6 separate regions of the Homo sapiens genome follow, and regions 1, 2, 4, 5 and 6 are each linked to region 3. The links are contacts of gene promoters, found by promoter capture Hi-C in blood cells and fetal thymus (Javierre and others, 2016). All regions are on one chromosome and are shown on one strand. The core of a region is centred on a gene start or on the middle of the fragment in contact, and the rest is flanking DNA. Distances in the headings are between cores, read along the strand shown. Region 1 overlaps DCUN1D5 (defective in cullin neddylation 1 domain containing 5). Region 2 holds the start of PDGFDDN (PDGFD downstream neighbor). Region 3 holds the start of MSANTD4 (Myb/SANT DNA binding domain containing 4 with coiled-coils). Region 4 overlaps DCUN1D5 (defective in cullin neddylation 1 domain containing 5). Region 5 overlaps DYNC2H1 (dynein cytoplasmic 2 heavy chain 1). Region 6 overlaps PDGFDDN (PDGFD downstream neighbor).

Evidence for each region. Contacts are between HindIII fragments. The CHiCAGO score rates a contact against its expected background, and 5 or more counts as called.
Region 1: a contact is called between a fragment that was not itself captured here and the fragment with the promoter of MSANTD4 in region 3, in 6 of 17 cell types (activated CD4 T cells, total B cells, naive CD8 T cells and 3 more). The highest score is 9.7, in activated CD4 T cells.
Region 2: a contact is called between a fragment that was not itself captured here and the fragment with the promoter of MSANTD4 in region 3, in 1 of 17 cell types (M0 macrophages). The highest score is 6.4, in M0 macrophages.
Region 4: a fragment that was not itself captured here is called in contact with the fragment with the promoter of MSANTD4 in region 3 in 1 of 17 cell types (non-activated CD4 T cells); the score reaches 6.1 in non-activated CD4 T cells.
Region 5: a contact is called between a fragment that was not itself captured here and the fragment with the promoter of MSANTD4 in region 3, in 2 of 17 cell types (total CD8 T cells and naive B cells). The highest score is 6.4, in total CD8 T cells.
Region 6: a fragment that was not itself captured here is called in contact with the fragment with the promoter of MSANTD4 in region 3 in 2 of 17 cell types (M0 macrophages and M1 macrophages); the score reaches 6.4 in M0 macrophages.

What each region holds. Positions count from the first base shown.
Region 1 is chr11:103,069,113-103,072,937 of GRCh38, forward strand. All of the region lies in intron 4 of DCUN1D5 (defective in cullin neddylation 1 domain containing 5), which reads right to left. Among named protein-coding and RNA genes, the nearest start is that of DCUN1D5, 21 kb to the right of the region's middle. The HindIII fragment of the contact is 1,266 bases long and covers 754-2,019 here.
Region 2 is chr11:103,903,675-103,907,479 of GRCh38, forward strand. It overlaps PDGFDDN (PDGFD downstream neighbor), which reads right to left and starts at 3,196. Exons shown (of 4, transcript XR_947960.3): 1 at 1,006-3,196. It overlaps PDGFD (platelet derived growth factor D), which reads right to left. Exons shown (of 7, transcript NM_025208.5): 7 at 3,515-3,805. RefSeq lists enhancers at 377-466, 887-1,056. The HindIII fragment of the contact is 6,449 bases long and covers 1-3,805 here.
Region 3 is chr11:106,020,529-106,024,438 of GRCh38, forward strand. MSANTD4 (Myb/SANT DNA binding domain containing 4 with coiled-coils) reads right to left here and starts at 1,712. Exons shown (of 3, transcript NM_032424.3): 1 at 434-1,712. RefSeq lists enhancers at 1,234-1,353, 2,184-2,253 and a silencer at 1,684-1,793. The HindIII fragment of the contact is 3,155 bases long and covers 507-3,661 here.
Region 4 is chr11:103,085,440-103,088,872 of GRCh38, forward strand. The region is part of intron 2 of DCUN1D5 (defective in cullin neddylation 1 domain containing 5); the gene reads right to left. Among named protein-coding and RNA genes, the nearest start is that of DCUN1D5, 5.0 kb to the right of the region's middle. The HindIII fragment of the contact is 3,227 bases long and covers 1-2,913 here.
Region 5 is chr11:103,172,724-103,176,318 of GRCh38, forward strand. It overlaps DYNC2H1 (dynein cytoplasmic 2 heavy chain 1), which reads left to right. Exons shown (of 89, transcript NM_001377.3): 35 at 359-582; 36 at 1,332-1,447; 37 at 3,512-3,595. Among named protein-coding and RNA genes, the nearest start is that of DYNC2H1, 65 kb to the left of the region's middle. The HindIII fragment of the contact is 1,616 bases long and covers 1,127-2,742 here.
Region 6 is chr11:103,884,853-103,888,612 of GRCh38, forward strand. The region is part of intron 3 of PDGFDDN (PDGFD downstream neighbor); the gene reads right to left. Among named protein-coding and RNA genes, the nearest start is that of PDGFDDN, 20 kb to the right of the region's middle. The HindIII fragment of the contact is 849 bases long and covers 1,955-2,803 here.

The DNA of each region.
Region 1 (3,825 bases), core at 137-2,636, 3.0 Mb before region 3:
TAGGTACAACTAAAATCCCTGAACATTATATAGAAAATAAACACAAGACCCTGAAAGGTGGAAACCTGAGGAACTACATGGTGGTGAGTTATCTGGGTTTCTTTTTGCCTAATATATTCCAAACTTGGAGCTGAAGAAGCTAGTAACCAGCAACACCAATGGGGGCAGACAAAAAGCCCCAATAAAACCCTGCCTTTTCTCTAGCCAAAAGACAAAGAAAGGAGGAGCCTCACAAAACAGAAAACTCTTAGAAAACAAACACTCTACTCCAGTTAAAAACCACTGAAAAAACTATGGCCCAACTCCCACCAATGCCAGCAAAGACTGAATGGGGACCTAAAATGTCCACCCTTACCAGGATATAATAAAGCCTCTCTCTCAACTCCTACAATGCTGGTGGAAATCGAAACCACACAGGTAACATGAACTTCTGCTCTTGCCAGGTAGTAACAAGCAGCCAATCCTCTTCTGCCCTAGGTTGATATAGAGGAGGCCTAGTGAAGGGTCAGGGCTTTCACCATCACCCAGTGGTAACAAGGCACTCCTATCCCTTTCAGACAAGAAAGCATCAGTAAAAGCGTAGTGGGAACCCAGAACTCTCATCCCTGCCCAGCAGTCACAAGGGATATCCTTCCTTAGATGTTAATGAATGCAGAGTAGAAAATTCAATTTCTACCTGTACCTGGCAGTAATAAGGTGGCAGCCCTGATTTCTCTTGCCAGAATAGCATTAGAGTAAGCTAGCTAAAACTGAAGCTTTAAATACGATCCAGAGATCCAGAGTTTCATAATATACTACCCAAAATATCCAGGTTTCAATTTAAAAAATCACTTGTCAAACCAAGATCTCAAATGGAATGCAAAAACACAATCAATACTTGCAACCACCAAAATGACAGAGATGTTCAGAATTATCTGACACATTTTAAATTAGCTATCACACAAATGCTTCAACAAGTAATTAAAAACGTAATAGAAAAATGAAAAAATATAAAGTCTCAGCAAAAAAAAAAAAGTCCAAGGACAAAGAAATATAAGATACAAAAAAAGAACCAAATGGAAATTTTTGAACTGTAAAATACAAGGTAGCCTTAAGCCCTAATATATCCATAATTACATGACAGTGAGTAGTCTAAATACACCAATAAGACAGAGTGGATTAAAAAAAGCATGACCCAAACATATGCTGTCTAGAAGAAACTTTAACTTCAAATAGTATAGGCAGGTTGAAAGTGAAACAATGGAAAATAATATCTCACAGAAATATTAAAAGAAAGCAGGAAGTGGCTTTCTACATTAGATGATATTAAAATAGAGCAACTTCAGAGCAAAGAAAATGATCAGAACAGAGAGGATAATCATATTATAATAAAAGGGTCAATCCATCAGAAAGACATAGCAATCCTAAACAATTCTAAGCAATCCTATACACGTTAAACAATAGAGCTGCAAAATGTGTGAAGTAAAAACTAAATGTGTGAAGTAGCACTGAAAAGAGAAATAAATTCATAATTATAGTTGGATATTTCACCACCCCTTTTCCAGCAATTGATAGAAACACTAGATAGAATTCAACGAACACAGAGAATTTAACATCATCAACCAACAGGATCTAGCTGAACTTAGTAGACTACTCCATTCGAAGACAACAGAATACACATTCTTTTCAAGTGCCCACAAAACATAAAACAAGACAGACCAATCCGGAGACATAAACCCCTTAACAGAGTAAAAATAACTGAAATAAAAAAGAATGTGTTCTCTGACAACAATGGAATCAAACTAGAAATCAATAACAGAAAGTTAATGGCAAAATCTCCAAACACTTGGAAACTAAACAGCAAACACCTAAATAATCTATGGGAGAGTTAAGTCTCAAGGGAAAACAGAAAATACATTAAACTAAATGAAAATACAACATATCAAAATGTTGACATACAAATAAAGCAGTACTGAGAAGGAAATTTATAGTGCTAAATACACACATTAGAAAAAAGAAAAAGCCTTAATCAACAATCTAAGCTTGTACCTCTAGAACCCAGAAAAAGAAAGGCAAAATAAACAAACCAAACAGGACAAAGTAAATAAGAGCAGAAACTGCTGAAATTGAAAACAGAAAAATCAATGCAACAAAGCACATTGAAAAGATCAATAAAATTGACAATTCTCTAACAAGACTGACAAAAAAGAGAGAAGACAAAAATTACCCATATCAGGAATGAAATGGGGTATTATTACAGACCCACAGCTATCAAAAGCATAGTAAGGGATACACAATGAACATATACAATGTATGATAGTAAGGGATCACAATGAACAACTCTCTACACACACAAATTTTTCTACACATATAAAGATTTTTATACAGGTATAATCTATATATAATTTTATATACTCTATATCTATATGATCTATAATCTATATATAGATATTTTATATCTATTGATTTATATAGATATAATCTATATCTATGTAAATATTTTATATAGAGATTTTACACAGATTTTTACATAGATATAAAAATTCTACATATGTAACAATTTTTCTACATCAAAACTTGGATGAAATGGACCAATAAGTTCCTTGAAAAACACAAACTACCACAACACATACAATATACAGTAGTCTGAGTAGACCTGTTATTATTAACGAAATTGAACTCAAAATTTTTAAACTTTCAAAAAAGAAACTCCAGGAACAGATGGTTTCACTACAGAATTATACCAAACCTTTAAAGACTTATTCCACATCTCTCTCAAAACATAAAAGATTAAGAAAATTTAAAATATTTAAAAAAAGAAAAATTTATTTAATAAAGCCAGTATTACTTGATACCAAAACCAGGCAAATACAAAAAAAAGCCACATAATTTTATCATTTAATACAGAAAAAGCACTTTAAAAATTTAACATCCATTCATGATAAAACTCAGAAAAAAAAAAATAGAGGGGAGTGTCCTCAACTTCGTAGAGCATAAATAAGTAACTTACAGGTAACATAACAGTGAAAGCCAACGTTTTCTCTCTAAGATGGGGAACAAGGAAAAGATGCCTACTCTTTCCACTCTTATCGACATAGTGGTAGAAGTTCTAGCTCATGTAATAAGTCAAAAAAAAGAAATAGGAGAGGATGTGGAGAAATAGGAATGATTTTACACTGTTGGTGGGACTGTAAACTAGTTCAACCATTGTGGAAGACAGTGTGGTGATTCCTCAAGGATCTAGAACTAGATCTAGATCTAGATCTAGATCTAGAACTAGAACTAGAAATACCATTTGACCCAGCCATCCCATTACTGGGCATATACCCAAAGGATTATAAATCATGCTGCTATAAAGACATATGCACACGTATGTTTACTGTGGCACTATTCACAATAGTAAAGACTTGGAACCATCCCAAATGTCCATCAATGATAGACTGGATTAAGAAAATGTGGCACATACACACCATGGAATACTATCCAGCCATAAAAAAGGATGAGTTCATGTCCTTTGTAGGGACAGGGATGAAGCTAGAAACCATCATTCTGAGCAAACTATCACAGGACAGAAAACCAAACACTGCATGTTCTCACTCATAGGTGGGAACTGAACAATGAGAACACTTGGACACAGGGTGGGGAACATCACACACCGGGGCCTGTCGGGGGGTGGGGGGAGGGGGGAGGGATAGCATTAGGAGATATACCTAACATAAACGACGAGCTAACGGGTGCAGCACCAACATGGCACATGTATACATATGTAACAAACCTGCACGTTGTGCACATGTACCCTAGAACTTGAAGTATAATAATAAAAGAAATAAAAGATATATAGATCAG
Region 2 (3,805 bases), core at 403-2,902, 2.1 Mb before region 3:
CTGGATTCCACCTTTTACTGTCATCACACATTATGCTTTTGCTTTTCACAAATGTATTGGGTTACATATGTAATTATTTGTTTAGTGTCTAGTCTTCTCTAGCCTCATGTAATGTCTTCTCTAGCTTGATAAAGGCAGGAAATACGTTTGTTTTATTTTCCTGTGAATCTGCTGTATTTAGCACAGGGCTGGACCTTTAGCCCTCAGTCAGTACTTAATACCTTTTCAGAACACATTTTTATGAGCTTTAGAAACTAGTCTTCTTCCCTCTTAATGGTTATGGAGGTCTTTCAGGTTCTGTGTATCTTCTTATGGTTTCAGCTTTGACCCTGAGAATGACTCCCTTTCAATGTTACAAGACCTGGCTCCTCTTCTTGGAGACATGCTTGCAAAATTCACCCCTCCTTCCTGCCTCCCTGGTTTTCCCACAAGAATTCTCTTGAACTCACATGACTTCTTCCTACAGGAGATCTCCAAGCCTGCACCTCCAGCCCATCCAACCACAAAGAACTTTGAAACCTCTTAACCTGTCTTGTCATCTTAGTTCATGCAAATAGCAACCCCTAGAGATTTGTAGTGCACAGCCTGAACAACCACAGGGGCAAACTTCCCTTCCTGTCTCTGAAGTCTCGCTTTATCCTTATTGTCTCACCCCTAGAACTTCAAGGAGCCTCATAACTCATAGCCCAATCCCTACTCTTTCTGTAGACCCATTTTCGAAAATGCAGAATTGCAGAATTGTTCTGCCGGAAGACACCTCCAGAACATCTTACATATCTGAGTGTGTAAATGAGGAAACATAGGTTTAGAAAGTGGCAGGCTAGTCACTACAACCAAGACCTTCTAACTTTCTGTCTGGTGCTCTATGACACATACAGCCCCCACTGTGCTCAGAGGTCCTCATGGAGCTTCCTTTACTAAATGTAAAAGACTAAATTCATTTGCCTACAGTTTCCTTTTCTTTCCTTTCGATCACTTTATATTTTCTGAACTGCCCACACTTACCTTATGCATTTTTGCTGGGAGACCTTTGTTCTTCCTGTTGATCTTACCTAGAATATCTTTCTCTAGTTTTATCCTCTGTTGTGAATCTTGTGTTTCAAGCCTCAAAGCATGTCTGATACATAGCGGGCTTTAATGTATTTGCTGTTGAATGAATGAATGAAACATGTAATTTAGTCAATTTTCCCCATATTGACTGTGGCTAAATTTCTATTGACAGAAGTCAACAAATATCTACCACCATATCCTGAAGTTTGCACCAAAGTGGACAGTACTGAAAAATATGCACCTGATGTGTTTGACTCTCAAAAAGCAGTGATTTCTTAAAGCAGTTGGGAATTTTACCCTATTAATTGCTCACTTGGGTAACCATGCAGTTGATCTCCTCGACTGATCTATCTCCTGTCTTTCCCAAAGCAGATATTGATCCTGATTTTCTCTGATTTGAAGACTGACAAGTAGAGGCAGGTGAGAAAGGAAGCCTGTGGGAGACACAGGGAGAAAGGAAAGTCTAGAAAGACACTAGAAGGCCTGAAGAGGAGAAATTTATACTATGACCTCAACCAGAAACAGGTTAGAGACCTTAGTTCTTAAAAGGGAACTTGTATTGTAGGTATTATTTAAAATGTAAATTGAATCCAAGAATGATTTTAACATTTGGTTTCTGGTCACTAAACCTGGCAATAAGTATAAACAGTTTAAAATAATCACAAAGTCAAATGATTTTGCTAGAAAATGAAGATTTCTTGGTCCACAGCTTGTTGCACTGAGTATATTAACCTATGTTAAGAAGTTAGCTCCACTCTCTTTTAATGTAGTCTGCTAAATAATTTTTAGACATCTCTATAGAAATGAAATTTATTCAAAAAAAGGACACAAATTAGTTTGCAAAATTCAGAAATATAACTGGAAAAGCAAGCATAAAGTCTTACATTAAGTGGTTAGTTGCTTATCCCTTGTTGATGCCTATTTTATTTGAGAGATATCCCAGTTGTGCTATGCTAAGTTTTGAAGGTCTGTGTAGTCTTTAACTTGATCTTTAAAAACAACAGAATTTGAGTGAATGTCAATAAAACCAGTGAATTATAAATATTCTGTCTTCTAGCATGTTTGACTAGGGCTGCCAATAAACAAAATTATATTTCCTAGGACTTCAGGCATGAATACTAATCTATTGAATTTTAATTTAATATTCTATGAGGAACCTAGGAGAGTATCAACAATTTAGACATCTGTTGAGTTATTCTCAGAATAAAACTGGACATGTGAACATTTCAGGAAATGAAATAAAATTCTTAATGTCTTTGTATTAAAATGCAACATATATACATACATATATACACATATATTCACATATATATACATATATATATTACTATTATGACTTTTTACCTAAAAACCCCAGTTACTTGAATTAGCTATTAGGCACAGAATTATTCGACCCTGTCCCCATCCCTCTCCCATGCTCACACACTAGCTAGTATTTCTGATGGTAAAATTAATTCTTGCCACAGAATACAGGTCTTTACTCCCATTCCCCAAATGACCTAAAACCACTAAAATGGCAGAGTTTCATTCAACACTGCAGCTGCTATTTTGTCTCCAGCAGGATGATATAAAGATTAGGCTATAATCAAAAGCAAAAATTCTTGCATGTGCATTGCAGCTAGAAGAGCTCTCTTTATGCTATGTGCCTCTTCACAAATTACAAAGCAAATGATATAGGAGTGTAGCTCCTAAACTGGTCTGTCTGAACTGATAACACTGAATCACTAGTTGGCTGGGGTGTCCACCCAGATGGGAAAAGGAGGTGGATAAAAGGGAAATGAGGTTGTAATGTTGTTGACTTCAGGCCTCAAGGAAGAGACAGCTGTGGATTTTCTTAGGTGAGGAACAATGTCAGAGGAGAACATAATTCATTATAAGACTCATGGGGAAACAGTCAAATGAAGAAGCAACAAAGCAGCAACAAAACCAAACCCAAGTCTTGCCCCACTGTGCAGCTGCAGGACAAAGACAGAACAGAAGCCTGTAATTGGGGAACAAAGTGTTGTTCTTTCGGGCATTATAAAATGAAGCCTTCAGAAATCACTCAATCTTGTCATTCCAAACAGTTTGATGCATTTGTGAAAAAAAGTTTTCCTTTTTTTTTTTTTTGAAAGGAGTCTTGTTCTGCAGCCCAGGCTGGAGTGCAGTGGCGTGATCTCGGCTTACTGCAACCTCTGCCTCCCGGTTCAAGTGATTCTCCTGCCTCAATCTCCTGAGTAGCTGGGACTAAAGGCGCCCACCACCACACCTGGCTCATTTTTGTATTTTTAGTAGAGACAGGGTTTCGCCATGTTGACCAGGATGGTCTCGATCTCCGTGTGATCCACCCCCTCGGCCTCCCCAAGTGCTAGGATTACAGGCTTGAGCCCCCGCGTCCAGCTGGAAGTTTTCTTTTCTTTTTTTTTTTCTTTTTTAGCAGTGTACACCTTTTAAAACTGCAATTGAGTACTAAATAATGGAGTAGTTTTGTTCAAAAGCAATATTTATTTTTCATGAAGATAAGAGGCATATTACATTCGCTATAGAAAATGCTATGAGAGGAAAAAGCTGCATGTTACCGATATGACAAAAAACATAAAAAACTCTACTTATGAAAGTGTTTTGCCCTATAAGAACATATTCAATAAAAGGCATTATTCCAGGTGAATGAGCCATGCGGAAATGTGGATTTATTAGGGTTTGTTTTGAAATGTAATTTGTACGGCCAGCTTTTTATTCCTTTGATGGCTATCAAATAGATTTATTGGCTACATGT
Region 3 (3,910 bases), core at 462-2,961:
TAAGATTTTGCTCTTAGAATCTGAGATCAATTTAGAAATCGCATTGTTGTAAATGTATTGGTACATGGTAGAAATAGCAGTCCTTTTGAAGTACCACTGAGTCAATATATTTTTAAAGTTTGACAGCAGCTGTTGCTATTTGCAGGGCCTATTTTTGACCAACAATTCCTAACTCCATATCTCTAACTTACAAAGTGGTATCCCGTTGTCCTGACTGATCTATTCTGAACTGATGAACTATTTCATTTAATCAAATGGGCTTTAATACATTTTTAACCTGACTGAAATTGATATTGGGATGCACCTTAGATACCCAGTCTTGGCTTAATTGTGTGAAAATCTTCTTCTAAAACCTTGATATTTTCTGATTAAGTGCAAGAAAGTGCCAGCATTGATGCATCTTGAGTTGTTGAAGTTCTGTAGATATGCTTACCTGGATAAAAGCCATTTCCAGAAATGTTTGTCTTCCTGTCCTCTCCTTTATATGCCGGTATCCAAGTAACAGAAGCTTGGGTTTTCTACCATCCATTCATTCCCCAATAATTTCCTCAAAAAATACTTACTGAGCTCCTACTGTGTGAAAGGCACTATTTTTGGTGCTGGGGATATAACACCTCATAAAATGTGAAAATATGTCATTTTAGATGTCAAACACTATCCCTTTTCTATTGCCTGTCATCGCTCTCTTAGCAGAAAGGATTCAACAGCTGCAGTCTCTAAAACTTACAAACCTTCTATGCCCAATCACAGAGAACAGCCATTTTCTAAAATCCCATTTCACAATCGTTCTTCACTAGTTGGAAACAGGAATGAGATGTAGTTCACTTACGTAATCCTTGTGAAGATGATGTACTGCCAATGGCATAATATAACCAGGCAACTTTTTACAAGCACTAAAACTTGAGAATGAAGTTCCTAGATACTTCATGATAAGTCAGAATTAAGAAGTCTGAGAAAAACCAGACGGCAAGTTCCGGATCAAAAAAATTTGAGGGTAAATTAGTTAAGCAGTTCAAGAAGAAAAGCATCACAAATCTACAATATCAAACCCTACCCAAATTCTCTTTAAAGTGTGGCTTTCCCCTCCCCTATATTCTTATAGGGGATTCACTTCCCTGCCAAAAAGTATGTTCTTCTCTAAAACTCGTGGTAGGTGCATAACAAGTATACTTATGGGTCGACGGTTATCAAAGTATCTTTCACCTCCCTCCCGCTGCCTCCTTTGGGACCGTCCAAAAAGAGCCCCTGGGAAGAATCGAGTTAGACTGGGCTCCCGGAAGGCCACCCAGGGGAGCAGGGGCGCGCACCTGCCTCGGCCACAATGATGAGGTTGCTGCTGGTAGGAGTCCCGGTGGGAGTCGGGGCAACCTGGAAGATCTCCTCTCTCTGGGTATTAAATGAGAGTCCCGACTGAGTGCCCAGAAACTTCTGCAGTCTTGTTTCCGTGGCCTGGGCCCTCCCCAGCCTCCCCGGTCAGGCGACAGACGCGCGTGGCACTTCTCCCGAGCGTGCAGTCCCGCTACGTCGCAGCCCTTGGACCAAACCCGGCAGCAAGCGTTGCGCCAATTGCCGCTGACCCCTCCGGGACCCTACCCACTGCGAGGGCACCCACTGGTCACGGAGCCGCCGCTTCCCTGGCCGCCTCCTCCAGCATAGAACCGCTCACCTGCGACCCCGGCGGCACCTCCCCACGGTCGCCCCAAGGGGGGTAGGAAAAAAGATGCTTCATTGATCCCCCGCCCACTAACTGGGCCCGCCCATCTCCCGCCACCCCAATGGCTCATATGGCTGCCGCTCATTTGATGAGTCTCATCCATTGGTTAGAATGGTGTAGCCATTCTGGCTGAGAGCCCGCCCTAGGCCTGGCCTCACAATGGGAATCAAGTCCCAAACCGGTTCCGGGTTAGTGCCCTGGAATTCCGCCCCCTCGTGATTCACCTCCCTGTCTGTGCCCCGTCTGTGGCGCGCAGCTCTGTCAGTCAAGTGGACTCTAGGAAGGGATTGGCCCCTAGAGATCCGCTTGCTGCGCTGTTCCAACTGATTGGGGCACTGGCCGCTGCATCTCCAAACTCGTCTCTTGTCCTTGACCCTCACCTGTTAAAAGGGCAAAGAAGAAGTAGGAAACTTGTGCTGCTCCAGTCGGGTTCTTAGGCCAGCATCACCTTCTCCTCGACCAGCTGCGACCTAATTGGCCTCAGCCATTCCTCTAAGGCTGCCCGTGCCAAAGGTCGCTGGTGACTTCCTTATGGCTAAATCTAGGAGTCACTTCTTAGTCCTTATCATACTATATACTTCCCAGAAGACATTTGAATTTTTTTTTTTTTTTTTTTTTTTTTTTACCATTCTTCACTGTTTCCCCAAATATGTGCTTCTGCTTTCTTCTCTCCCAGTCCTCCTCTATATTCAAGTTTGCAGTTGCTTATTTTCTGCCGTCTCACGTTCAGGTGTTTGTGATTAGTGCACCTTTCTTCCCGCTGCCTCTGTCCAGGCCTCTGTGGACTCACCTGAATTCCATCAGTAGCCTCCTAGCTGGTCTCCCAACATCCTGTCTGCCGGACTGTAGTTCATTCTTCACGTTGTAGCCAAAATGAGCTGCTTAAAGTTTTTTAGTGGAATCTCACCACTGGTGATACAGTACAAACTCCTTATCGAACCTGAAAAATAAGGCACCTACTTTTCCCTCAACCTTCATCTCTCGACATTATACCCACATTTCTTCTTCCTTACCCCATTCCCTTTGCTTCTTTCAGTTCCTGAACTCTACAGTGGCTACTGGGAAGTCAGTTTGCATTGCTGTGTTTCCTCCCTGCTTCTCCGCTATGCCTAGCATTCATTTTTAGAAATTCCTTTCTAAAGGAAGGCTTCCAAAATTATCTCCATTCACCCTCCCTCCACTTCCAAGTATTCCCTTCCCTGTAGGTTTGCCAGATAAAAACAGGACGCTCAGTTAAATTTGAAGTTCAGATAAAAAGCAAATAATTTTTAATCTGTCCAATGGAATATTTGGTATCCATATGTTTATTTGCTAAATTTAAAAAAATAAAAATTTTTGTTTACTAAATCTGCAAGCCTACTTCAGCGAGCTCTCATCACGGCCTTTCCTCTGACAGCACTTCCCACATATTTTATGTGGGTGGGGCTTTTCTTGTTTACTGTTGTGAATAACACAGTGCCTAGAATGTAACAGACAAAAAAGATTTGGTAAATAAATGGTGGAATATTCTGGAGGAATGGTGCATCCTTGCTGGATATTCTTGGAGGAACTCTCCCATAAAATAGGAAGTAATTATGAAATATGCTCTTTAAAATGTAATGATCAGATTGATCTTACAGATTGTTACTTATGACTTTGTCAGTAAGTATAGACATGTTTGTCAAAGAAGCATGTCTATACTTTTGCCAAAGTAGATCAAAAGAAACTTGTAATTTTTGGAAAAATACAAGTTGTATTTTATAATTTTGGATTTTGTTCATGGTGGGTGGTGTTTTTTTGATGAGTGCAGTGAGAAAGTAAGATAACTAGCTATCCCCATCATAACCAGACACTATCAGTTCTGTTCAGAACCTGTCCACCACTTGACTCTGTTTATTTACCTCAGTAATGGGGACAAGAATGGTGAATCAGTATTAACAAACTTTTGCTTTCGTATCATGAACTCTAAGCTTTCCCCAATTAACCTCAGTCTCTTTGCTAATTGAAGTATCTTTTCCAAATACCCTCACTATTTCCTCTCAGCTACATCTTGTCTGAGTGGATATGGACCAACAATGAAGAATTTGAAGGTAATCCATAATGTGTACTATCAGTACTCCATGATCAACCTGTTTGCTGATTTAATTTTTCTTAAGTCCAGGCTAGAGATTTGACCCAAAGATACTTACACACTTACTTTACAACTGTGCTGTCCAA
Region 4 (3,433 bases), core at 50-2,549, 2.9 Mb before region 3:
AAATATAAAAAATAAAAAAGAAATATCAGTATAGCCCCCCTAGAAACTGGAGGATTACTTGGTGATTACTAATTAAAATTTGGTTAGAAGCAAGTCAAATGAGATTACATAGAGATATAATACCTTATAACTTAGATAAGGTCTGTAAATGTTAACTGACTTTGCCAAAGTGATGTAAATAGTAACAGATCTAAGTCTAAAGCGAGGTCTGTAACTAATGTGCTTTCCCCGGACTGCAAAATGTTAATCCTTCCAATACCATTGCTTCCAATCTTTCTAATAAAACTACTCTCTGGGTAAAACCTCTGGAGCTAAATTTAATTAACTCTTTTGGACAACTAGGTTTCCACTCAATTGAAGAAGCTATAGAAATGATTTTGTTCATACTATGAGTTCACTCTACTCCACCAGCTAGGTACTATATTAGGACTATGCAATTCCAACCTTATTTTTTGACTCTATGAGACTTTAAAACTGCCCTTTCACTTTCCATGTTTTCAATTACCATAGGCCAGTATATTACTGAATCATTAATTTAAATATCACTCAAGAATGAGGTCTTGTGAAAGAACAAAACCAACAGCCTTATCACACATAATACCATAGTAACAAGTTTAGTGATATTTTCAAAACTAAAAGAAAAACACCATCAATTTCCTGATTTCTTTATAACCATAAAGGAATGTTCCTAGCTATATCTGCAAGGCCTAATACCATGCCAGCCATAACAGATGCTTAGGGGGAAAAAAAAAAAATTCTCAGTGACACAGCACCTTCAACATGAGCTACGTAAGAGTCATTAATTTTGGAACACTGTAAAAAACACACAACCAGTAAATCTGATGCTGTAATGCTATTACTGTTTTAATAATAATAACATTTGAGTTCTGACTATATACCAGGTATTGTGCTAAGGGCTTTACATGTATTATTCTCAGTAGGCAAAATTATTGGCTTCATTTTAATACGGACATACCCATTTCAAGACAGAACAGTTACTGTTTATTTGGCAAACAAATGGTTCCTCCCTAATCAGGTCTCTGCACAAAGTGGTCTCCACAGAGAGGCCTTCCCTAATCACTCTATCTGAAAGTCCATCTAACCCTTCTTTCTTCTCTATTCCTGAACCTCACCATATTTATTATCCTTATAACTCCCCACAATCTGTACTTATCTTGCCTACATACCTGTTTACTGACTGTCTTCCTCACCAGAAGGCAAGTCCCCCAAAGGCAGGGATCTTGTCTGACTTGCTCAGCACTATATATCCAGCACTCAGCACAGTGCCTGACTCAAAACAAGTGCTCAATATTTATTGAATGGATGACAGAAATTAACCAAGAGTACCAATATTTTCTTTGCAAAAGTGAAAATTAGCTTAAATAAAAAATAAACATAAAATAATATCTATTATAATAAAATGTTTATAACTATATATAAACATTATAAAATTTAAATAAAAAATACATAAAAGCATAGTAGTTAAAAGCATGGACTTTAGAATCAGAAGGACCTGGGTTTGAATCCTGGCTCTTGTCACTATATGATCTTGGGCAAATTAATTAATCTAAGTCTCAGTTTTCTCATCTATAAAATGAGGGTATGGCCAAGCACAGCAGCTCATGCCTGTAATCCCACCACTCTGGGAAGCTGAGGCAATTAGATCACTTGAGCCCAGGAGTTGGAGACCAGTTTGGGCAACATCGTGAAACCCCATTTCTTTTTTTCTTTTTCTTTTTTTTTTTTTTTGAGGCAGAGTCTCACTCTGTCACCCAGGCTGGAGTGCAGTGGTGTTATCTCGGCTCACTGTGAGCTCCGCCTCCTGGGTTCACGCCATTCTCCTGCCCCAGCCTCCCAAGTAGCTGGGACTACAGGCGCACACCACCACGCCCGGCTAATTGTTTGTGTTTTTGGTAGAGAGAGTGTTTCACCATGTTAACCAGGATGGTCTCGATCTCCTGACCTCGTGATCTGCCTACCTTGGCCTCCCAAAGTGCTGAGATTACAGACGTGAGCCACCACACCCGGCTGAAACCCCATTTCTACAAAAAATTTAAAAAATTAGCCAGGCGTGGTGGCACATGCCTATATTCCCACCTACTAGAAAGGCTGAGGTGGGAGGATGGCCTGAGCCCAGGAGCTCAAGGCTGCAGTGAGCCATGATCACAGCACTGCGCTCCAGCGTGGGCGACACAGTGAGACCCTGTCTCAAAAAATAAAGTCGTAGTGGGAGGTGGTGATAATACTACCTACTTAATAGAACAGTCACAAGAAAAAATAATATACCTGGGACAATTCCTGGAATAATGCAATTATTATGTTGGCTATTAAAAATGCTAATATAGTAAACAAATGTTTAATTAGAATCTTACACTACCTAGGAAAGTTCCTAGTTGAGGCAAATATTTTCTATTTCTATTGTATCTAGTAACCTTTATAAGTGAAATAAGATGGGTGACCTTTTGATTATATATCATTCATACCAGTAAAACTGGCATTTGGGATAATGGGTCAACATTTTAAATGGAGGTCAGTAAGAAATGAATTCCCTTCATTTAAATTGGGTTAGTGGTTGTCTTGGGATGCCAGTAATAGCATTTATTTCTGGTCTAGAAAGAATCTGTTCTGTTACTAAACAATTTTAAAATTGTACTTTGGGATCACTCAGCTGATTCCAACAGTAAAGTTACTGCCCCCCTTTCAAAATAGTCTCACATTCCATACAATTAGCCTAAACTTATACCTCAAGTTCAAAGTATACTACTTTAGACCTTAATGTGGATGAGCACTAAATATAAGGCAATAGCTACATATACACTTCCATTTTAAACAAACATTTTGAGAATGATAGTGATTAAAAGAAGGAGAAAAAAAAGTGAAGCAGGTTAAAAAAAAGGAAAAGGAAAAGAAAAAAGCTTTAAAATCAATAACTCCAAAAAAACAAAACTATTCTAAGGGGAAAAAAATTCCATATATATTTATGAGATAGTATAAGTGTTCTTTTGCATATATTTGCTTAACTCTTCAGCCCCATCTCTGGCTGGCTTTGACTTTCGCCTCTAAAACACAACCCCATCCTGGGCCTAGGGCTCTTCATCCACCAGTTACAAGATTTAGCTGAGGTTAAGTTAGCTCCTCTAGAAAACTCCCATGACACTTTAAAAGCTGGGTTATATATCCCTCCTATGAACTCTCACAGTGTATCTTCTGAATATAGTATTTATCACACTGTATTAATATCAGTCTATTTATTTTCTTACTATTGCATCTCTAGTAGAAGTGGATGGCTAAATGATAATTGTTAAAAAGTAAATGTGTTGTACAATTATAACTGAGGGGTTTAAATCTTTTACTATGTCTCCCCAAAAGTTTCAGAAAATGTTAGTTCAGAAAAATTTCAAAAAGAGAATATTGAATAGAAATGTTTTATTAT
Region 5 (3,595 bases), core at 685-3,184, 2.8 Mb before region 3:
TGTACTTAACAAAGTGTTTAGTACTAAGAAGGCTTTTAGTAAACATATATTTAATGTATAAATAGATAATGAAATTAGTATCTCTTAAACATTCAGCCTCAAAAAACTGATTGTAAATAAACTCTGCAAAGCAGTGTAGGTCTTAAGGAATTTATCATATATTGAGTAAGGAGATGGTTAGTACATTGGAGGTTACCTTTACCTAAGGTATAAGATTTATGTGTAGTAATATGTCACAATAAAATTCTGTTGGCAGCATATTTTATGTTTATAGTTTCAAATATAAACGATGCCTATATGTTAAATATTTTAACTTAATATTTAATATTTAAATTAATATTTTTAATTAATATTTCAGGTAGAAGTAAATTCTAATTCTGGAATTTTTATCACTATGAATCCTGCTGGAAAAGGTTATGGAGGAAGACAAAAACTGCCTGATAATCTTAAACAGCTTTTCAGGCCCGTAGCTATGTCTCATCCAGACAATGAGCTTATTGCAGAAGTTATTCTCTATTCGGAAGGCTTTAAAGACGCTAAAGTATTGAGCAGAAAATTGGTAGCTATTTTCAATCTATCTAGGTGAGTTTTCTTGTTCTAAATATTTTTATATTTTACATTTCTAATGATTGATTTTGGTTATTAGTGATCATTTTCATATTTTCTCAATTCACCTATTGCATGATTTTTATTCTGATGATTTTATTGTACTTATAGTGTAGCTATGAAAGGCTTTAGCATGCACATAAAAATATTGGTTCAAAACTACTTGCTTTTCTTAAATATTATTAATTTGATCAGTTTTTTTTCTTCAAAATGTTTATATTAGAGTGCTTCAGCTAAATGATTCTTACTGAACTAATTTATCAGCTGACCACTCACAAACTACTGTTCTTTGGAAAGAATCCTTCACAATTTTTCTTATGTCTTATTTCTAGTAATAGAAACTGACATTTAGCTTCTTTGGGACAATGTACAATTCTCTTCCATATCACTTAAGAGATAATGGTGAACTAGACAGTGTCAGAGATTGAGAGCAAGATGGATTGATTAAAGGCTTTAGGCATTAGGGTAACAGGTAATTGTCATTTGGTGTCTTCATTAAGATAATTAGCTTGTTCATAAAAGCTTTATCCTACCCTTGAGAACCGTCCATCTTTAACAGCTTACTTGAATGATTATTTTGTGTGGTTGCTTCCCTTATATAAATTAATGGGATATCAACATTCATTTCTATGTGTCAGTGTTATATTCTGTATTTCTTTGGATGTTATGATGAAAGTAATTTCTTCTAGCTATTTGATGTGTTGATTTCCATGTCTCTATTTCAGGGAACTTTTGACACCTCAGCAACATTATGATTGGGGTTTGAGAGCTTTGAAGACAGTTCTGAGAGGAAGTGGAAATCTCCTTAGACAGCTAAACAAAAGTGGCACTACACAGAATGGTATGATTGATTATTCCAAATACATTAACTTATTTTTAAAAACATAAGCGTTAATTTAGAATAGTTTGAGATTTACAGAAAAGTTGTAGATACAATATTAAGGATTACTGTATACCCTGCCCCAATTTCTACTGTTGTTAACATCTTTCATTAGTGTGGTATATTTGTCACAACTAATGAATCAACTTTGATACATTGTTTTTAAACTAAATTTCCTACTTTATTCAGGTTTTCTCCAGTTTTTACCTGACGTCTTATAACTTTTAATGTGTGTTAAATATTAAATAGTTGTAATATGTAAAGTCCACTTGTTCTTTAACTTCAATGTCCATTGGAATCACCCAGTGGCTTGTTAAAACAGATTATTAGACCCCACCCCCAAAGGTCCTGATTCAGTAGGTGTAGAGTAGAGCCTGATAATTTGTCTTGTCTTGAAACAAGAACAGAAACCTTAGAAACACATGTAGGATTTTCTCTTTCTAAAGCTAGTATATTATGATTAGACTAGGTTATAAATGTTTGGAAAGAATACCGCAGAGGTGGAGTGTCTTTCTTACTGCGTCATATCAGTGGGTATATAACAACCATATGACATCACTAGTTATGTTAACCTTCATCACCTGGCTATGGTAGTGTTGCCAGGTTTCTCCAATGTGAAGTTATTTTCTACCCTCCTGGCTTTATTCTTTGGAATCATGTTAATAAATCTAGCTTACTCTCAGAGTGGCAAGGAAAGGATTAAGCTCCACTCCTTGCGGGGTTTGGGGGGGTGGGGTGGGGTGGGGGGTAGTATCTTCATATATTATTTGAAATTCTTCTGTAATGAAGATTTATCTTTTCTGCCTCATTTATGTATTCATTAACTCATTTATTTAGCTCAATACAGACTCATATATATGTGCTATACTTTCCTCATATAAAAAAATGGTTTTTTATTCACATAAAAATAATGATTTCCCCCACCTGTGGAGGTATACGTTCATGAAAGGCTGAATAATCAGTTTCTTCAGGTTGCTATTGAAAACTAAGTTAAAACACTATGAAAGTAGAGACAACATAGAAAAAAGGACCACATGAAATTACCTCTTTGGACTTTAAATGATCAAAGTGTGTCTCTTAAAAATGGCATCTACATTAGCTGTATTATTAGGTTGGCGTATGCCTGGGTAGATATAGTTATTTTGTGAGTGTTTATGTTACTATTTTTTAATTGTCTATATTTGGTGATTTTTAAGAAATATTTAAACCATACCTGTAATAAGTAAAGATGGCTTATGAGTTCAGTGCTTGAAATAAGCTTTAGAGAAGTCCAGACTTTTTATGTGTACTTAAGCATGGAAATATTAAGCAATTATAGAGGAAATGCCAGGCAAATAGTTTCTTTGACTTTATGTATCTTACCAATCAGCAGCTAATATCTGTGAAAATAAGAGTCTGGCAGTGGTATCAGTATTTGCATTTGGCTTAAGAATGGGTTTGTGAACCAAATTTGAACAAGGCTGATCAAAGATTGTTGCGCAGTTTGTTAGTTGTTTATCTTAGGACATAAACTGTGAGACGATATTGGTATATTTGGAGAGGCACCTGAATTTAGAATTAGTTTATCTGGAATTGAATCTTAGCTGTAATATTGCTGTGCCTTTTCTGAAAGTCACTTAAACCTTCAGAGACTTAACATTCTCATGTGTAAAATTGGAATAACAATAGTAATACTTTTTAACCTACTTTATAGGGTTGTTAAAAGGATTACATCATATAATATAAAAGGTGAAGTACTATGCAAATATTAGTGATAATGATTTTTATTATTAATTAAAGTCTTGGTACCCTGTGATCTGAATTCTATGGGAAAGAGTTTATAACTGTACTTAGTGATATTTACTTTTTAGCAGTCAAAAGATATTAAAGTAAGCTTGCCAATTCATGTGATGTAATGTCTTTAAATGTTACTAAATTCTAGTGCATTTAATGATTAATAATGCATATCAAGGCTATAGAATATTTAAAAACTTTTTTCATCATTAAAGTAATAATAAATAATTTTAAAATGAAACTTTTTTCTAGCTAATGAAAGTCATATTGTGGTACAAGCACTGAGGCTTAATACCATGTCAAAGTTTACGTTTACTGATTGCACCCGGTTTGATG
Region 6 (3,760 bases), core at 1,129-3,628, 2.1 Mb before region 3:
AGACAGTACACAACCCTAACATAGCAATAAAGGAAGGTAGAAACTATACTCTTCTTGTGTGTCCAGAAAAAAAAAATGATAAAACAGAATGTGCTGACCATTTAGCATCGCTTCTGTCATATGATCCAATACAAGATTGATTTTGGTATATACATGGCATTAAGGGAGCAGAGACAATGCAGTCATTACATTGCTGAAAGGTTGGGGAAATTGATGTTACAGCGGAGACTTGGAAGATGATTGTGCTTTGCCAACGACTGAAGTAGAAGAAGGGCACTTCAGAAGAAGAGTGTGGAACAATTGCTGAGGCATCAAGAAGCTCATGCTGTTTGCAAGAACTGATTTATTAAGTTGAATTCTATAGCTTCATGGAATATGATAAAATACAAAACTGAAAAGCTAGATTGGGAGTACATTTCTAAGGTCCTTGAATGCCAGGTTAGAATTTAAATTTATTTTGCCATGTGGTAGGAAGCTATTAAAGATTTTAAACACGGAACTTTGGTGTGATTTGAAGAGAAAAATCCTCTGATGGCAGAGTACGGAGGAAATTGTAGAGTGAGAGACTAATTAGGAGATGAACTATGTCAATGGTTTTCAAACAGAGCTGCATGCCAGAATTTCCTGAGGAACTTCACAAATACAGATATATAGGCCCTTCACTGAACTAATTCAATCAGAATTTCTGGGACAAATACTGTGTTTTTCAAAATGACTTAGGTGATTCTCATGTAGAACCAGTGTTGAGAGTCACTGATCTATACCAACAAAATTATAAAGGCTTCAAGAGCAGTTCTGTGTACTCGACATATTAACTTCTGTATTTGGCAAATAGTAAGAGACCACGATACTTTAATTCATTGACTGATGCATACTCCTGGTCACGAGTAAGGTTTTCCCAGTGCAGGTCTGTGTTAAACCTTGTTCGGGCTTTGTTCATAGGAATAAATTACTTTGGGTAGCAGTTTACACTGGTTGGGGGAAGCAAATGACTATGTCCAGACCTCGTGCTTGTCATTGTCAAATAATGTTTGTGTGTGTATGATTAGATGAGAGCAAGCATAGGATTCATCAACAATTATTGAAACACCTTCTAAAGTCTCATCTGTTTTAAAATATCTACTTCAACAACATAAAAAGGACTCATTAGTCTACCTCCAAATCTTTCTGATATTCATCAACTTCTTCAACCCCTCCCCCTCGATGAATTTCATGGGGCTGTTATTCACATCCCTTACCACTTCCTAAAGTTCTTGGATCTCCAGCCCTCCTGGTCACTATCTTCCTTTTTCTGGTAGCAGAACTGCTCCCCTCCTCCAGAGTGCTCCTGATCAAGAAGAGTGGGTATGCATCTTCCCTTTAAGAATGGGATCCTCTTGGCGTGGAGCTCTCTCTGGAAATCCCTTAGGCAGATGGGGTCTGGATGTTCTGGAAGTGTTCTTTATCACCTTGGATACCCACTAATATCTTAAACTTGTCTCCTTGAATGGCTCTTGCTACCCTCTCCTACTGGCTGTTCCATCACAGCCCCAGGGCTCACTTACATTTCAAAATAGTTCCCAATATTCACATTTACCATCTGGTCCTAGAAGGTCTCTCCTCAACAAATAGACCCATTTGCAATTAGACTGCAGTCTTATGCTCTCAAAAGCAGTGTCTCCAAGGAGTTCTCAGGGAGAGCTGCAGTACCATACAGCTTTAAAATAATGAAATTCTCCTAAGCCTCCATAATTTCTTTAGAAAATCAAGCCTACATTATGCCACATGTTATAACACTCTAGACTGGCCCCTCATCACCAGGATGCTGTGCCCTGGTATGGTAGTAGAGAGTCCTTCACCTCTTTAGCATCTGTGGTCAGATGCAGCAAAGTACCACATTCCTTTTCACCTGCTCCCCACAGGTTGCAAGAAATATGTACACATTGGCTGCCTGGAACACAAATAGGCATCTCAAAGCTTCCTACAGTTAATACACAAATTAAAATTTTATAATGACCCTGGCTACAGTTATATTTCTCTATTATCACTTGAACCTGCCTTTTTTCCAAAGCAGTTGTATATTTTAGGTTTTGTACTATATTTACAAAGTATGGGGACTTAAGGAAATATGCCCTAAATAAAGCACTATCCGAAAATTTCTTACCTACATTTCTATCCATGATGCTCAGAGAACAGTATTCAGTTTATGAAAACAACAATCTCCTTATGAAAGATAGCACCAGATGCTGCTTAGGCTGCAGAATTTGCAGCTGTGTGTTAGTGTTCACTAGCTCGTGACTGGTTTGTCACTTCTCTATGGCTTTCCCCTCTCCTGGGAGTGTGAGAAGTGGGAGAGCATTGCAGCTGTTTTATCTCCAGCGCTCTGTGGAAGGAACTCAATGACTGCTGCTGCATTCAGAGGTTGCATATCAGCTGCACCGCTGAGCAGCTGGAAATGAAGCTGATGAAAATTTTGGCTATGGTTATTCTACACGTTACGGGTCTTCAAGACCTGAGTCTTTTCAGAAAACATGAGTGGAATACAAATAGTTGACATCACACATACACCTCTTGCAATCTTTCAACACTGCTTTCAAAGCAAAAAAATTCCACTTCACAGGAATATGAAGCTGCCAAGTGTGAAGCCTGGTGTTCTCATTTGCATATCAATCCCAGAATGCTTTTCCAGCCTCAGCCTTTCTGAGCTTGAAGTTTTAGGCAGAATAAAAGAAAAGGCTCAGGTGTCCCTGTACTTTTCGAGTTTTGTGTAAATTGTATCTATGATAGACAAACAAGAGAAGTAGGGATTTTTCCCTTTGTCCCAAGCTTAGAGTGACTTCAAATGAAAAATGAGAGTTTGGAACAAGTAGAAATAGCATCATATTCACTCATCACCATTTGAAGTAACATTTCAGTGGTTGGATTCTAGTTACCTCCAATCTGTTTTTATCTCTCATTTCAGTTGCATACATTATAGATTCAGAGATATTGAGAACTGGAAAGGTCTCTACAGATAATCTAATTTAAAGTGTTCCCCTGTCAATGGGTCACCATCATCTGTGTAATCCTAAGCCAGTTACTGCCACCAGCTCTGCTCTCCAATGAGTATACTGTTAATATTTACCTCCAAAGACAGCTGGAGTGACAGTACAATCAGCAGGGGCTACATCTCACTGACAATGGTCATTGCTCAGTGACCAGGGAGTATTTTTGACCATTCCACCACAACCACCTGCTTCATGAATGTATAGCTTTAGAGCCATGCAATGTCTACATCTTCAAAAAAAATGAAAAGTACAATTTTCTTGATCTTGACTGTTACTTTGAAGGGAAGAAAACTGAGGCCAGAATGAGTAAGGTTTTCTCAAGGTTTTGTGGAAAGTTGGAAGCAGGGTCAAGATGTAAACCTAGGTCTCTGACTCTTAGTTAAGAGTTATTCTGCACTCCACACAAGGTGTGCCAGTCACTGCCTCAGGCCTTGAGACACAGCATTGACCAAGAAAAAATTGAGACTTCTACCTTCAGAGAGCTTATACTCCAGCAGCAAATAAAGACATTAGTTACAAGCAGTCACGATCAGTGGTGAATCACATTATCATAGTTGAAATAAGTTGTGCCTTTTTGTCCTCCAACTTCCAGGTAGGAAAGAAAAAATTCCCCTGCGTTTATTCTTCTTATGGACATCTAGATAAAGTGTCCAGTTAGTGAAATACAATCCTAGTGACTCAAGTGCCAAGACAGACAAGGATTTTTAGGGCATTTAATTGATTGCTTAATTAAT